Linked DNA regions of Homo sapiens: all the other regions are linked to region 1. Evidence: promoter capture Hi-C in 16 types of primary human blood cells and fetal thymus (Javierre and others, 2016). All regions are on one chromosome and are shown on one strand. The core of a region is centred on a gene start or on the middle of the fragment in contact, and the rest is flanking DNA. Distances in the headings are between cores, read along the strand shown. Region 1 holds the start of HNRNPK (heterogeneous nuclear ribonucleoprotein K). Region 2 holds the start of SMC5 (structural maintenance of chromosomes 5). Region 3 holds the start of ZFAND5 (zinc finger AN1-type containing 5). Region 4 holds the start of KLF9 (KLF transcription factor 9).

Region 1 (3,411 bases), core at 602-3,101:
AGAACGTACCAGTTATTATATATCCTTGCAGAGCAGAACTGAAGCGTTCTGGGTCGGACCAACAACTGACACCCCAGTGCTGCAGTAGCCTATAAGAACCAACACAAATCAGTTTTGCTTTTGTTTATTCTTATTACTGAATATTTGTTTCCGATCACAGTGAATACTGATTTGAACCCAAAAAACCAGCTGTTTCTAAAACTTGATTCTTCATTTTAGGGTTTCACAATTCAAATGACTGCCTAAAAAATACAAAATTCAAGGGAGCCTGGTTTCATTTTTTGCTAAGTTAGAACAATAACTTTTAGCCACTGGATTAAGTCCCACCACAGCAATGAATTGTTTTATACGGCACATTCCCAAAACCCTGAAAAGATAAATGTCATCCACAAAGCATACATTTATGAAAAGTTACAATGCATCTTATTCACTGGGAAAACTAATTTTATATTAAAACTTCCAATTGCTTTCCTATTTCTTTCGACTCATGCTTGAAGCGATCTTATGTGACATCTCTAAAGTTTACAAATACAACGGCAATTGCGAACACATCCAACAACCAGAACAATCTACCGGAGGGATAAATCCAAAAATCTAATATAGGACCAGACCCAAACTACCACAATACCAGTCTATTATTAATCAGCGAAACAAATGGAGCCCTTGAAAACTAACAGTCACTAGCGGATTATTTTAAATTAGGCTTAAGGGAGTACAACACAACAATCATGCCTGTAACACGAAAACTAAAGTGTCTACGTGCCAAAACGGTCGATAGGACTACAAACAGCCTTTTTAAGCTTCCCTCTTGTCGGGACTAGGAGTTGACAAGCGGCCTCTACTAGAAGGTTGGCTAGACAGCAAAGAGCCAACAAGCGAGGCACATTTATGCCTCCCATTCTCCCATACCGTTGGTCGACTTATTGCTCTCCTAACGACAACTGAAACGACATCCTTCCGGCCCAGCACGCAATTTCTGAGGTGTGGTGGGAGAAGAGTTGGATAAGAAAGTTTAAGCAAAAACAGCAGGGCTTATCTGTAAGAATAACGTTGCCGCTTGCCGTTCACCCTTCGGGTCCTGCAGTCACTAGTCCCCAGGCCTCAAAAATCCGCTAAGTATGTGCTCCACTGGCCGAGCGCCAACGCGCCCTCCCCTCCCCGCCTCCCGGCACCGAGATCAAAAACAGCCGGGTAACAGGACGGGAAAAAGCGAAAGTCGACAGCAGAAGCACCGCACCTCTCCTCACCCGGATCCGACAGGAAATGGCGGCCCGCGTAATGGCGACTACGTGCTACTAGGCGGAGCCGAGCGCCGACCCCCTCCCCCACCCACCACGCGGTCCCGAGGTCTCATCCCCCGCATCCTCCCCCCACTGCCCGAGACAAAGCCATCGAGGCAGCCCTGACCGTTCCATCCCCGCCGCTCCAGCTCCGACCCCGGGCCGGGAGACCCAAGGTGAGGCGGGGCTCACACAAAGAGAGCGGCGGCGCGACCTTCTCCCCGCACCGGCCTCCTTTCCTCCACGAGGTCCCTAGTTCCCAGTGCCACATAGCTCCAGCTCATCCTAGAGGCACATGCCTCACGAATCCCCAAGTCTCTAGGACCACAACGCGGACTGCGGATACACGCTCAGGGAAATGGCGGAGGTGGGGGAGGGGACACCGGGCAACGTTCCCACTCGGAGAAGCGGCCAAACACCAAAGCGGCTCCCAGGACGCCTCCCTCAAGCGGAAAAACTGGGCTCCGACCCTCACCTCCACGAGCCGCTCCCCCAACCCGGCTCCTCACCGCGCGAGACTGCCGTCCCTCCGCTGCCGCGCCGCCTCAGCCGGTCGGAGCTAGACAGAAAACGAGCGCAGGCTCCCCTCCCCCGCCTTCTCGCGTCCTCCCCGCCGTCGCGCCCTATTGGCTGCCAGGGCTTCAGCGATGGTGCGAGGGCGAAGCGATTGGCCCGAGGCCACGTCAATCAAGGCGACGGAGGAGGCGACAACCCCGCCTCCCGCCAGCGCCTCCCTTCGGGCTGGGAGGCCACTAAGGGCTCGAGAAAACCCGGGCTTGGGAAAAGTAAACGCAGCCTTTCAGGGAGCCCCAACCCTTACCCGAATCAGCAATACCCAAGCTCCAATAACTCCAATTACCTATAGGCCGCGAACAAGTGGGACACAGGCAAGACGTCGAGGTCGGTGCAGCAGAGAAACAGAGGATAATGGCGTCTGCAGTGCTGTCGCCTGGAGCGCCCTCCTCCTTTCTCGTTCGCGCACTCACTAGCTGGGGGGAGGGGCGGCTAGGGGGCGAACCTCTCGCGAGATCTAACAACTGCCTAGTTCACGCGCACAGGGAGGGGGCGGGGAAGGGGCGTTTTCCAGCCCCGAAGGAGTCCTTTGGGGTTGGAGGAGGGGCGCGAGCGCGCGGCAAATCGGGCGGGAAGAGGTAAAAAAGGAACTGGGAGCGCGCCGCGGCGGTTCCTGTCCTTACAGTTGCGCTGCCCAGGGACCGATGTTGCGCGAGGAAAATGCGGGACGCCCAGGTCGGTGCTCGGCCCAGACTTATGCCCGTGTTTTCACAGCCCACACTCGTGCCCGAAGCCCCTTACCCCGCCCCGGGCTGTGGTCTGTGGGCTGTGGGACGAGCTGCGGCGCGGTAAGTGCGGGCCGTCTGCGTCCGCTGGGCCGGGCCCACGCTTCGGAAACCCGTTGTTTGTAATGGTCCGGGGCGCCCGTCAGTCAAGGCCGGGCCCGGGGGCGCAGCTGGCGGTTCTCGGCCTGCCTTGCGCCGGGGCGGGAGCCGGGGAAACGCGGGGCGAGCCTGGGAGTACTGGAGAACTTCTCGCCGAGAGGGCACAGGCGGTTTCACAGGGCTCTCGGTTCTGAGACTTTCCTCTTGGGTAATGGGACCTGAGATGGAAGTATTTTGTAGTGTCGTCGCTGTAGTTTATTCCGATAAAATTTTTAGGCAATATGTATTGCCCTTGTCTCCTAAAATGAATGCGTATCGCTGAATACGTTGCAGACCTCCACGTTCCATTCAAAGCGCCTGCCTTGTGGCAGTGATGAAAACAGACAAAAACCCTTGCCCTCAAACGTGCTCCTGTTCTAGCGGGTTCAGCGCACACTTGCATTGTATTCGGTTCCTTACTTTTAAGGCTCCTGTGCCAAGCTTTCATGACTTCCTTTGTTAAGGCACATAAGGTCACTTTCAATCGGTGACAGCCCTGGGAAATCTCCAGCCCTGGTAGTACCCGCTTTCCACATCCTTACTCGTCAACCTTCCAGCCTCCGCCCACAATCCCAAACTCATTTTGAAGCATAAAGGTGTCATAATCTGCACATAAAGCGAAATCCACCATTGGCCGAATACATGCATATATTTTAGTGTTGATGAATTTGTGCTGATTCATTCCTGTTATAATG
Region 2 (3,492 bases), core at 826-3,325, about 14 Mb before region 1:
CACAGCAACCAGAATTATTATTTAAAAACTTTAAGGCCAGGCACAGTGGCTCATGCCTGTAGTGCCAGCACTTCGGGACACCGAGGTGGGCGGATCACTTGAGGTCAGGAGTTACAGACCAGCCTGGCCAAAATGGTGAAACCTCGTCTCTACTAAAAATACAAAAATTAGCCAGGTGTGGTGGCATGCACCTGTAATCCCAGCTACTCGGGAGGCTGAGGCAGAAGAACCGCTTGAACGAGGGAGGCAGAGTTTGCAGTGAACTGAGGTGGCACTACTGCACTCCAGCCTGGGCGACTGGGTGAGACTCTGTCTCAAAAAAATCAAATAAAAAAAATCAAATAAAAAAATTAAAAGCTTTAGTCAGAACATGGCCCTCTCCTGCTTAAAACTTTGCAATGGCTTCCCATTGCTTTAAAAATAAAATTCAGGCTTTTCCACGATGGACAAGGTTCTGCTCTGCAACCTTGTTCACTGCTCTGCAGCAACACTGGCCTTCCCACCTCAGAGCTTTTGTCCTTACTGGTATGTTCCAGCAAAATTCTTTTGCCTGGGGTGCTCTTTTCTCAGATCGTCACAGTTTCTTCTCGTCCTTCAGAGTTTATCTTAAACACCACCACCTCTCTAAGAGGCCTTCCGTACCTCCCACCCATCAGGTTCATTTTGTTTTCTTCCTAACACCTGTCACAGTCTGACATTATGCTAATCATTTGTTGTGTCAGCCTTAAGTAGTGAAATTCAGAAAATATCATTAAGTATAGAGTTTATTCTAACGCAAAGCTTGAGGACAGCCACCTGGAAACACCAACTCCAAACAAATAGGGTCAATGTTCCAAAGTGAAGTTAAGGTTTCATTTACACAGGCAGAAACAGAGAAGGTTCAGCAGGAGTACATTTTCAATACAAGAGCAGTGCATAAATTACAGCGATTAGATTAGTTATAGATAGCTACATTCCAAGGAAGATAACTATATTAATTTATGAAGGGGGTAGTGATCTGAGGGGGTCTTACCTCTGTCTCTGTTTGGTCTTCCTGATTATAGGAAAAAACAAGGCAGACATTGCAGCTGTATGCCATGGGACTCAGGCCCCATCGCCACATTCTTCGCAAGGCTCAGAATAATTTAAAGTTCCAACAGCTTTAAGTTTGAATTATTTAATTTCACAGTTGATTCACTTGTTCTTTTCCTGTCTCCCACAATAGAAAATAAGCTCCCAGGGATGCAACCTTGGCAGGCTCCTAAACTGCCACGGCTCCAGTTTCTTGTAGATTAGATATTCACTGTTGGTTAAATGAAAGAAGTTCTAGACAGGCCTCGGTGTGCTGCCTCCTCTTTAACGAGAGGGCTTACTAGATGAATGTGAGCAGACGGAAGCAGAACACCCTCTTAATGAAGGCAGCGCATTCCAGCTCAGGGATTTCTAGAAACCTCGGGGGCGGAAGTTTAACCAGAGAATTAGGAGGCAAGGGGAAGAGTAGCAATGAGGTTAACCTGTGCAGTGTAGTCATTTCACGAGTTTGAGAACGCCTAGCACGATGCCTTAACGGAGCGTCGGGCACAGAGTCATTTGGGAGGATTTCTTTTTCGGATTTTTGAGACAGGAACCTGATTTGAAGCAACAGGGAAGAACACCAAGAGGACGAAGAGCCAACGACGGGCGTGCCCGGGAGCTCTCACCTGGAAGGGGTGGGAGCAAGCAGGGCCTGACGTCCTCCCGCCTTGGCGGCCGTGGACGCCCCAGGTGCCACCCACAGCAGCCTCCCACCACACATGACTGAGGCTCGGGAAGCAATAAAGTGGCTTTCAAAATACTAAACGCAATTGAGATTTTTTCCTGAGTTAAAACAAAAAAAAAAAGGAACTGAATGCCGAAATATACGGAGAAGAAACTCCAGTTGCCACGTCCCCGAACGTCTCCACCCAGTCCTGCCTGCTGTTTCGCCCTCAGTCTGGGCCTCGCACAGCGCGGCGGAGCGCGGGAGGGGCGGGGCGGGCCTGCTGACGTCGCCGGACCTGAACTGCGCAGGCGCGGCGCGAGATCGCGGGAGCGAGCGCGCGGTAACAGTTCGCGGCAGTTCGCGCGGGAGCGGGGCGCCTGGGTGGATGGGCGCTTGGGCGCCTGGGCTGCCGGACGGTGGGAACGGAAGTCGCTGTGGGACGCTGAGGAAGCCAGGATGGCGACTCCGAGCAAGAAGACGTCAACTCCAAGCCCCCAGCCTTCCAAGAGAGCTCTCCCGAGAGACCCTTCGTCGGAGGTCCCGAGCAAGAGGAAGAATTCGGCCCCGCAGCTGCCGCTGTTGCAGTCGTCCGGGCCTTTCGTGGAAGGCTCTATCGTCCGCATCTCGATGGAGAACTTCCTGTAAGTTGCCCGGAGGCCGCGCCGCGGGTGTGGAGGTGTGCTGGCCAGCAGGCCCCGGGGCTCCGGCAGCGCGCGGGCGTGGGCGTGTGGGTGTGTACCTGGCTTGTGGGTCTGGCCTTGAATTCGTGCCGGGGTTCCCTTGAGGATTTTCCTACGTAGGCTGTGGAGATTGACGTGTATGATGTAGGAGATGTGTGCCTTGGGTGATGTGGTTTTTAAATTTAGTCAGCCAAGGTTTTCCAAAGGTGTCATGTAGCAGGTAGTGGTTGTAGGAGGGAGTAGGTCTCTGCCCGCTGGGAGTCGCGATCCATAGCGGCCCTGGTCTGGAATTCACAGAAGTATTGTCCCCGGGAACTTAAGAGGAGGCAACAGTTAATTCGGCGTGATAGTGATGCTGTGGCGGATTCTTAGGGTAGGCATTTGCCAGAGAGGAGTAGATAAGACGGTAAAGGTTGTTCGGGAATGGAGGTTACAGGTACAAAAAAATTAAACACTTACTGGCAATTGTTGGACCTCCCTACAAACCCTTGACCCCACTAAACCCAGTTTTCTTCCCTGGTTCCTCCCTCTCCCCTTCAGACAACTAGTTACCGCTTTAGAATTTAGTAAGTTTTAAATATATCATGTATTTGCCTAGCACCTTCCAGTTCATTTGTTCCAGGTCTTTTTTTTTTTTTTTTTCCTCTTTTTTTTTGAGACGGAGTTGCGCTCCTGTAGCCCACGCTGGATGGAGTGCTGTGCCGCGATCTCGGCCCACTGCAACTTCCGCCTCTCGGTTTCAAGCGATTCTTCTGGGTCAGCCTCCCGAGTAGCTGGGACTACAGGCGCGCGCCACCACGCCCGGCTAGTTTTTGTTTTTGAGACGGAGTGTCATACTGTCGTCCGGGCTGGAAGGTAGTGGCGCAATCTCGGCTCACTGCAACCTCCGCCTCCCAGTTTCAATCAATTCTCCTGCCTCAGCCTCCCGCGTAGCTGGGATTACAGCCAGCCGCCACCACGCCCAGCTATTTTTTTTTGTATTTTAGTAGACTCGCGGTTTCACCGTGTTGACCAGGCTGATCTGGAACTTTTGACCTCAGGTGATCTGCCCGCCTCGGCCTCCCGTAGTGCTGGGATTACAGGCGTGAGCCA
Region 3 (3,244 bases), core at 507-3,006, about 12 Mb before region 1:
GCATGAATTCCCACTCACCTGGGAATGGAGACCTGAGTTCAAGTCTCTAGTCTGCCACTAAGTCAGTGACCTTGGGCAAGTCCTTACTTTCCAGATTTCAGTTCCCTCTTTGCCAAATGGAGTAGAATTGACTTTTAAAGGCTCCTTTTCAGGGCCTGGGAGATAGAAAACAGGAGACAACTACAAAGAATCCTTAATTTTTTAGGGGGGTGTGGGGAAACATTTTAACAAAAAACTTCAAAGATAAAATTGCAGTATTTTCACCAACTGAGTTCTGAAAGCCTACTCTTTAAAAAAAATCCTAAAAATAAGGAATAAAATACATTCGTTTATGTTTTTAGAAGTCTGTATCTAAATCCCAGGTTTAAGAACGGGGATGTGTGACCTATATGTTCCTTTATCTTGGTATCTCCTTAGATGCTATCCCTTAGGAGACACTCAATCAATAAAGATAATCCGACCCTTCCCCGAAAACACACCTCCACGGAGTGCGTGGAAAGCGAGCAAAAAATTTCACATTCATCAGCCTAAATGCACCAAACAAAGGAGGTGTTCCATTTCCTCCATGAAAACGGATCTCAGGATAAAAACGCAGCGACGTCGAGAAGCCCAAAAGACGACGCCGAGAACCCCCGGCCCCATGTTCCAATGGATTTTGGAACAAGTTCGGGTCCCACTGATACCCCATCCCCCTCTAAGCAAAGGCCTCACTCAATAAAGCCCAACAGGGCCCTCTCCGAAAACCACTGAGTCATGCAGAACAGCAGCTCAGCAGGCCCGGCCAGCCCTTCGCCTGCAGGCCCCACGCGGATCCCCGACCCCCGACCCCCGACCCCGAACGGCTCCTCTTAGGGGAGAGCTAGGGGGGGCTGCAACGGGCAGGGGGCGCGGCCGCCGCCTCGGCCTCTTTGTTTCTCTGGGTCGTGGTGCCCACGCCGGGCGCCGCCGCGGAGGCGAGCGGCCTAGAGGCCGGCCCCGCAGAGGCGGCACGCCGTGCATTGTTTCCCGACCGTGCTGTGGAGCGAGCCAGGGACGCCGGGAGCCAGGTCTCGGGCCACGACGACAGGATGACGCCTCCGTCTTTGTGCTTCCTGGGCTGGCGGGCGGGCTCCCCTCCCCCGGACGCCGCCATCCGCGGCCTGCTCCGGCTTCGCCATTGGCCCGCGGCGCCCCGGTCCCTTCACTCCCGCCCCCGGCCCGGCAACAAGGAGCCCGGCTCCCACCCGCAGCCCCGTATCACTCACCCTGCAGGGTCCCAAATGCGAAAGCCGGGTTCGCGCGCGAAGCCGGCACGATGAGGCCGGGCCGAGGCCTCCGGGAAGGCTGAGCCGGGCGCCCTGGTGCCGCCGCCGCGGGCCGGGAGCGGGTCGGAGCAGCAGGCGGAGGTGGCGCCGCCGCCGCCGCGGGGTCTTCCTTTGTTCCTGCAGCAGCGTCGAGCGTGGCCGGGACACGCCGGAGCTCGGGAAGTGGGAGGAGGGAAGCGAGGGGGGGCCGAGGAGGAGGTGGAGGGAGGACCGGCGGCCGCAGCGGCTAACGCTGCTCGAGGCGCTCGCCTGTCGTCGCCTCACGCCTCCACAGGCCGCAGGTTGGGCGGACGAGGAGGGCGAGCGGACCGCGCGCCGCGAGGCCTGGGGCCGTAAGGGCCCGCTGATGGCGCTCTTCGCCGCTCCTGCCACCGCCGGGGAAGCTGCGCGGCTCCCGGGAGCGAGCGAGCCCGCGTAGGAGATGCACACAGCTCCGCGTCCCGGCCGACTAACGCACTCGCCGCCCGGCGCCCGGGCTGTGAGGGAAAAGAGGGGGAGGGGGCGGGACCCGTGCGTCAGCGAAAACCCCGGCGGCGGCGGCGGCGGCGGGGAGCGCGGTGACGTCGCGGGCCCAAGGCCACGCCCCCGGTGCCCTGTCAGTAGGTCCAGGAGGCGGGGCCGAGACGGGTTGCTGTGCCTTCTCGCGGAGCCCAGCCACTGGCCTGGCAGTCGGCCCCTAGGGTGGAGCTGGGAAGAGCGAGTCCTGTGGAGGATGCGTTTCTATTTTTAACCCAATTGTCCGCCCTCAGCCTCCCTCCTTCGGATTTTCTCATTCAAACCCGTTTTTCGCCATCCTAGTTCTCACGCTTTGTCTCCAGCCCTGGGCAGACATTCCCTCCCCCAAGAATCGTAAGGATTCACCCCCAGAAAAGGAAAAGAATTGCCTTATGGCTTCGAGGTCTTTTCTGTTTATGAAACCTCCTCACTCCCCACACCCATTTTGAGCTCCGAAGTCCAGCCCGAGCGTGGCCCTGACGCAGCTGGCGGCGTGCGTTCGCTCGCCCAAGGTCACGGGTGGTTGTGCGGAGTGAGGAAACGCGCGGCCGCCCAGGGCTGCCAATGCCCCGGCGGCGCTGTTCTGAACAAACTGTTTTGGCCAGCCTGTGAAATCCCTGGAAATTGACGATTCCAGCAAAGCGTCGTGAACTGGGAAAGCACCAAATGTTCTACTCAAAAGCCGCGAAGGGACAAAACAAGCTAGACCCGAGGCCCAGATGAAGCGGGAGGAGGAGGCTTGCGAGAGGAAGTTCAAGGGGGGAGGTACTAGGCGGGCAGTTCAGGCACGAGGCACAGGTCCCCCATGGGTGAAAGGATGACTTTACCCGGAACACTGGGAACCTTTTCAGAGCACAAACAAAAAACATTTTCAACTGACCGCTCCAAGTGAATTTCAGTTCAACTCAAAATAACAAAATTACTAAGTCGGAAAGGACTTCTGAAATTTTCTAGTAAACAACGGTCTAACGAATACATAGAAATGATGTTTAGGGTTTATATTAGCCACATATAGAATGGAGAAGAGGTCCCTTCAGTGTTTCTCAAAGTTGGTAATCAGAAAAAAAATCACCTGGGGTGATTAAAGATTCCTACGCATCTCCCCTGGATATGGTTTTGGTTGTTCCGGGGTGGGAGCGGGGGTGGGGGGGGGCCCATATTGCGCTTCAGGTGGTCCTTATTTATAATCTGTATTTGGGGGAATGCTATACTGATAGCTTGAGCCACCACTGCCAAATCAAACAGTTCTCCGCCACAGTTAGCAAAGTACCTGGAGCATAACAACCTTTTGTTTTGTTTTTTAACAAATTCGGGTTTATTACTGTGATCAATTAATGTATTAGAGATTTAAGTAGTTTGGGTCACTGGTCCCACGACCACTGCAATTTATTTCCTTAAATTAGCAGATGAATTAGTAAAAAAAAAAAAAAAATAGCAGCTACCAT
Region 4 (3,631 bases), core at 733-3,232, about 14 Mb before region 1:
ACAATTAAGGAGAGAGTGAGCTTTCCGCCAATGCACATTTAAATTATTTAAAGAGTTAAACCGCATCTTATCCAACATGTTTGCACCCTTTCGGCCGAGTGCAGTGTCCCGAACGCCCAGGAACGCTGCCTGGCCAAAGGTTAACTAACCCCAGAGCTCCGGGGGAGAGGGCGACGCCGCTAACCTGTATGCACTCTGTAATGGGCTTTGAGATGGGAGGATTTTCCATAGACTTTCCCACAGCCACTGTAGGGGCACTTGTGCCTCTTTTCGGAGGCGTGTTTCCCCTTCGCAGCCACTCCAGGATGGAGGAGGGAGAGCGGGCTGGGCGCGCTGCCAGGATCCTGTCTCTCCTCCGGGCTGTGGGAAGGACTCGACCCAGATTCGGTGGTCACGTCGCTGTCGGATCCCATATCCTCATCTGGACTTTCCAGACTGTCGCTGCACACGGAGGGGGTCTGGATGGGTCGGTACTTGTTCAGGTCCAACAAGCTCTTGGCGATGGTGACCAGTGTGCAGTAATCCTTCCAGGTGTCCCCCGGGTCACCGTGCTCCTTGGTCACCTCGCGCTCAGGTAGTCGCAGCCGCTCGGCGTCCGGAGCGACCCCATGCTCCGGCACCGCAGCGCGGTTCGAAATGGAAACCAGACACTGGGCAGCCACGAAGTCCATGTAGGCGGCCGCGGACATGGTGCGGGCGACGGCAGCCCAGGCGGCGCGGACAAACTTGGCGGTGGCTGCGGAGGTTCGGCTCGCCCTGCCCTGGCCTCGGACGACGAGCGCGGCGCGGCGCGGCACGGCGCGGCGGCCAAGGGGGCGGGGGCGCGGGGCGCTTCCGACTCGCAGGAGCGCCGAGGCGACCTCAGCCCCTCATCTTTACGTAACCGGCAGCGCCTCCGCACGCAGCATCCACGGCCCCGGGCTCCGCCGCGCCGCCGCCTCTAGCCGCCGCCCCTGCCCCGCGCCGGCCGCGATCCCCCGACGGGCGCGCCGGCCCCTCTGAGCCGGCTCCCTTGGAAAGATGCCACACGTGGCGGTCGCAAGTTTATTCGACTGAAAACGCCCCCGAGGCGCTGGGAGAGGAAACTGCAAGAGAGGTGCACGCCCTCGGCCGCCTCGCCGTCGAGCCAAAGCCCCAGGACATTCACCCGATCACCCCGACGCGGGTGGCGAGGGTCCCGCCGAGCGCCAGGTCTAAGAGACACTTTTTCCCGAGTCCACTGACGGCTTCTGAACCCCTGCTCCGGCCGGTCCGCACCGTTCCGGCATTCTCTTGCTCAGTAACAATTTCGCAGAATCCCATCACGTCACAAACCAAACCCCCTCCAATTGGCCAGTGGGGAGGGTGATTCAACTCTGTTTACTTTCTCCCCCTGCCAGTCAGAACGGCCTTCGGTGGAGAGGTGCGTCTAGAACTGAGGCGTGCGGCCAATCCGACTGTTCCGTTTCGCTGCCTCGTGCTACCCCTACAGCCTCGAACACTGACATTTAAAAGGGTAACAGCTGGGAGGCAGGGAAGGGGCAGCCGCACACTTTCGGAGTGCCTCGCGGTCCCGTGGCCGGTCCGGGCCTCCTGGCTCACGTTCCAGCTTGCGGAGCTTTGGGACACATCTTTCCTAGTCAGTTGCGCTCGTTCCTATGGCAAAAGAGAACTTCAGCTTCGGTTTTCCAGCTCCCAAACAGTTAAGTGACTTCCTGCAAACGCTACAGTCCCAGCAACCAGCCTTCCAATCAAAAGTAAGTTGGTTGATGTCACTGGCATTGGCTCGGCCAATCACAAGGGCGTTCCGAAAGCAAGCGCTCGACACTTGTAAACGCGAAGAGCTGTAGTGAAACTGGACACATCTTTGTATTTTGTGTTGCTGGTAGTAAATTTGAGTTATGGATGAGAGGACAGGGGTGATGAATAAATGCAGTGTGAATCTATAATTAAAAAAACCCCATTATGTCAGGATAAGTCCAAGAATAAACACAAATGAGTAAGAATTCGTTTTGTTATATATTTTTTGGATGCAGCATACTTTGGGGCAGATGTTTAAAAATTCTTCCATCCAATACATTAACTATGACCAATTCATCTTAAAAATGCAGTGCTAACAAAAGTTCTGGTTTTACAGCATAGCCTTTTTACTGCCTGAGATTCTTCCATTGAAACATCCCATCTTTGCTTGTCATATCTCTTAATTCCTCTACTTCTCTGGTGCAATTTAGTCTAAATAAATTCTTTTAGCTTTATTTGGAGGCTATTTTTAACCCACTTTCAGAAAAACGGAGACAAAAACCATTCATTTGTGTAACTTTTATAAAAAACCCACCATTCTTAGCTCTTTTTCTTTCCAGAGCCCCTGCATGGTTTTTAGGACATGTTTCTCTTCCCTCACTTCACAAATGTGGAAACTGAGTTACAGAGAAGTGACTTATTTATCTTATTAGACAGATAATGATAGAACTCAATAGAAACCACAAGTCTCCTGATTTCTAGCTCTTTGTGCTTGCAACTAAGCCCTTTTGGTTTTGTGAAATATTAACTGTGCAGAACAGATTTTTAGGGACTGGAACAAGCTGGAAATCCTTAGCCATGGAATACTGTGGCATTACTTGGTCAACAATTAGTATGGGTCTTGGAGTCTGATTAACTTGGTTTACCCCTCCGTCTGAATTAACGATGTGGTTGTTTTCCATCTTGATAGCTAGAAAAGAATCTAGGGCTAGTTCTTTTTGCAAGAGGCATACTGTCAGCACAATTCATTAAAAATAATTCACTTTCGTGAATGTGAGAGGTACCTGATTCTATGTGATGCAGATTCGGTGAGTTCCAACCCTGACCCCCCACTGGCTATTAACCTTTGTTAAGAGAAAGTTACACCAGGTTCTGGTCTCCGAGGCAAGGGTCTCAAATTGACTCTACCAATGTGAGATCTACAGTAGTTTCTTTTGACTTTGTTTTTAAAGTGGTACATCAAAAATAATAATAATAAAAAAAAAGTTAGCCAGGCGTGGTGGCTCGCACCTGTAGTCCCAGCTACTCAGGAGGCTGAGGCTGAAGGACTGCGTCAGCCTAGGTCAAGGCTGCAGTGAGCCCTGATTACACCACTGTACTACTCCAGCCTGGGCAACAGAGCAAGGCCCTGTTTTTTTTGTTTTTTTTTAAATCATAACTAAGGGTGGCTCAGGTAAGTAAGAGTATAATAGATTTTAATTAAAAAATAACAAACCTGACAAGACCAGTTCAATAAAAGTGTACAGCTTAAAAAAATAAAGAAAACAACAACAAAAATATTAAAGTGGTACAGGGAAGATATTGCAGTAGGTGACTGCAGGTGGAAGAAAGGTGTAGATAGGGGATACTGGGCAACCAAGAATATCATCACCATCAGCATCATTATCACCGACCCCTTTCATGGAGGGCTTACTCTGTGTCAGGCCCTGTACCAAGCACCCTGCATGCATCCCTGTAAGGTAGGTATACAGTGTATAAAAAACTCCAAGCCATCTTGGAGTTCTTGCATTTTTAGAACTTAATCTCTTAATTTTAGAAAAGAATTCACTGAAGCCCAGGGGAGTTTGCCTACTTCATGATTTTTCTGGGACAAATTTTGTCCCCTAGGATACACGATCACTTAGAAATTGCA

Evidence for each region. Contacts are between HindIII fragments. The CHiCAGO score rates a contact against its expected background, and 5 or more counts as called.
Region 2: a contact is called between the fragment with the promoter of SMC5 here and the fragment with the promoter of HNRNPK in region 1, in 1 of 17 cell types (fetal thymus). The highest score is 9.0, in fetal thymus.
Region 3: the fragment with the promoter of ZFAND5 here is called in contact with the fragment with the promoter of HNRNPK in region 1 in 1 of 17 cell types (fetal thymus); the score reaches 7.2 in fetal thymus.
Region 4: the fragment with the promoter of KLF9 here is called in contact with the fragment with the promoter of HNRNPK in region 1 in 1 of 17 cell types (total B cells); the score reaches 6.8 in total B cells.

The regions. Positions count from the first base shown.
Region 1 is chr9:83,978,364-83,981,774 of GRCh38, forward strand. It overlaps HNRNPK (heterogeneous nuclear ribonucleoprotein K), which reads right to left and starts at 1,852. Exons shown (of 17, transcript NM_031263.4): 1 at 1,790-1,852; 2 at 10-89. RMI1 (RecQ mediated genome instability 1) reads left to right here and starts at 2,442. Exons shown (of 3, transcript NM_001358291.2): 1 at 2,442-2,528. RefSeq lists enhancers at 1,126-1,285, 2,106-2,155, 2,115-2,622, 2,196-2,255, 2,386-2,455 and 2 more and silencers at 1,826-1,965, 2,776-2,855. The HindIII fragment of the contact is 2,357 bases long and covers 799-3,155 here.
Region 2 is chr9:70,256,903-70,260,394 of GRCh38, forward strand. It overlaps SMC5 (structural maintenance of chromosomes 5), which reads left to right and starts at 2,076. Exons shown (of 25, transcript NM_015110.4): 1 at 2,076-2,361. The coding sequence starts at 2,177. It overlaps SMC5-DT (SMC5 divergent transcript), which reads right to left and starts at 1,972. Exons shown (of 4, transcript NR_039990.1): 1 at 1,494-1,972; 2 at 1,013-1,033. RefSeq lists enhancers at 1,643-1,832, 2,163-2,362 and a silencer at 1,903-2,122. The HindIII fragment of the contact is 2,740 bases long and covers 779-3,492 here.
Region 3 is chr9:72,363,452-72,366,695 of GRCh38, forward strand. ZFAND5 (zinc finger AN1-type containing 5) reads right to left here and starts at 1,757. Exons shown (of 7, transcript NM_001102420.3): 1 at 1,245-1,757; 2 at 19-155. RefSeq lists enhancers at 760-1,463, 1,464-2,168 and silencers at 776-1,605, 1,616-1,995. The HindIII fragment of the contact is 8,298 bases long and covers 1-3,244 here.
Region 4 is chr9:70,412,675-70,416,305 of GRCh38, forward strand. KLF9 (KLF transcription factor 9) reads right to left here and starts at 1,983. Exons shown (of 2, transcript NM_001206.4): 1 at 185-1,983. The coding sequence starts at 689. KLF9-DT (KLF9 divergent transcript) reads left to right here and starts at 1,516. Exons shown (of 4, transcript XR_001746710.3): 1 at 1,516-1,736. It overlaps LOC124900273 (a long non-coding RNA gene), which reads right to left and starts at 132. Exons shown (of 2, transcript XR_007061576.1): 1 at 1-132. RefSeq lists enhancers at 16-125, 464-1,317, 1,146-1,225, 1,566-1,695, a silencer at 676-855 and a promoter at 1,032-1,834. The HindIII fragment of the contact is 11,812 bases long and covers 1-3,631 here.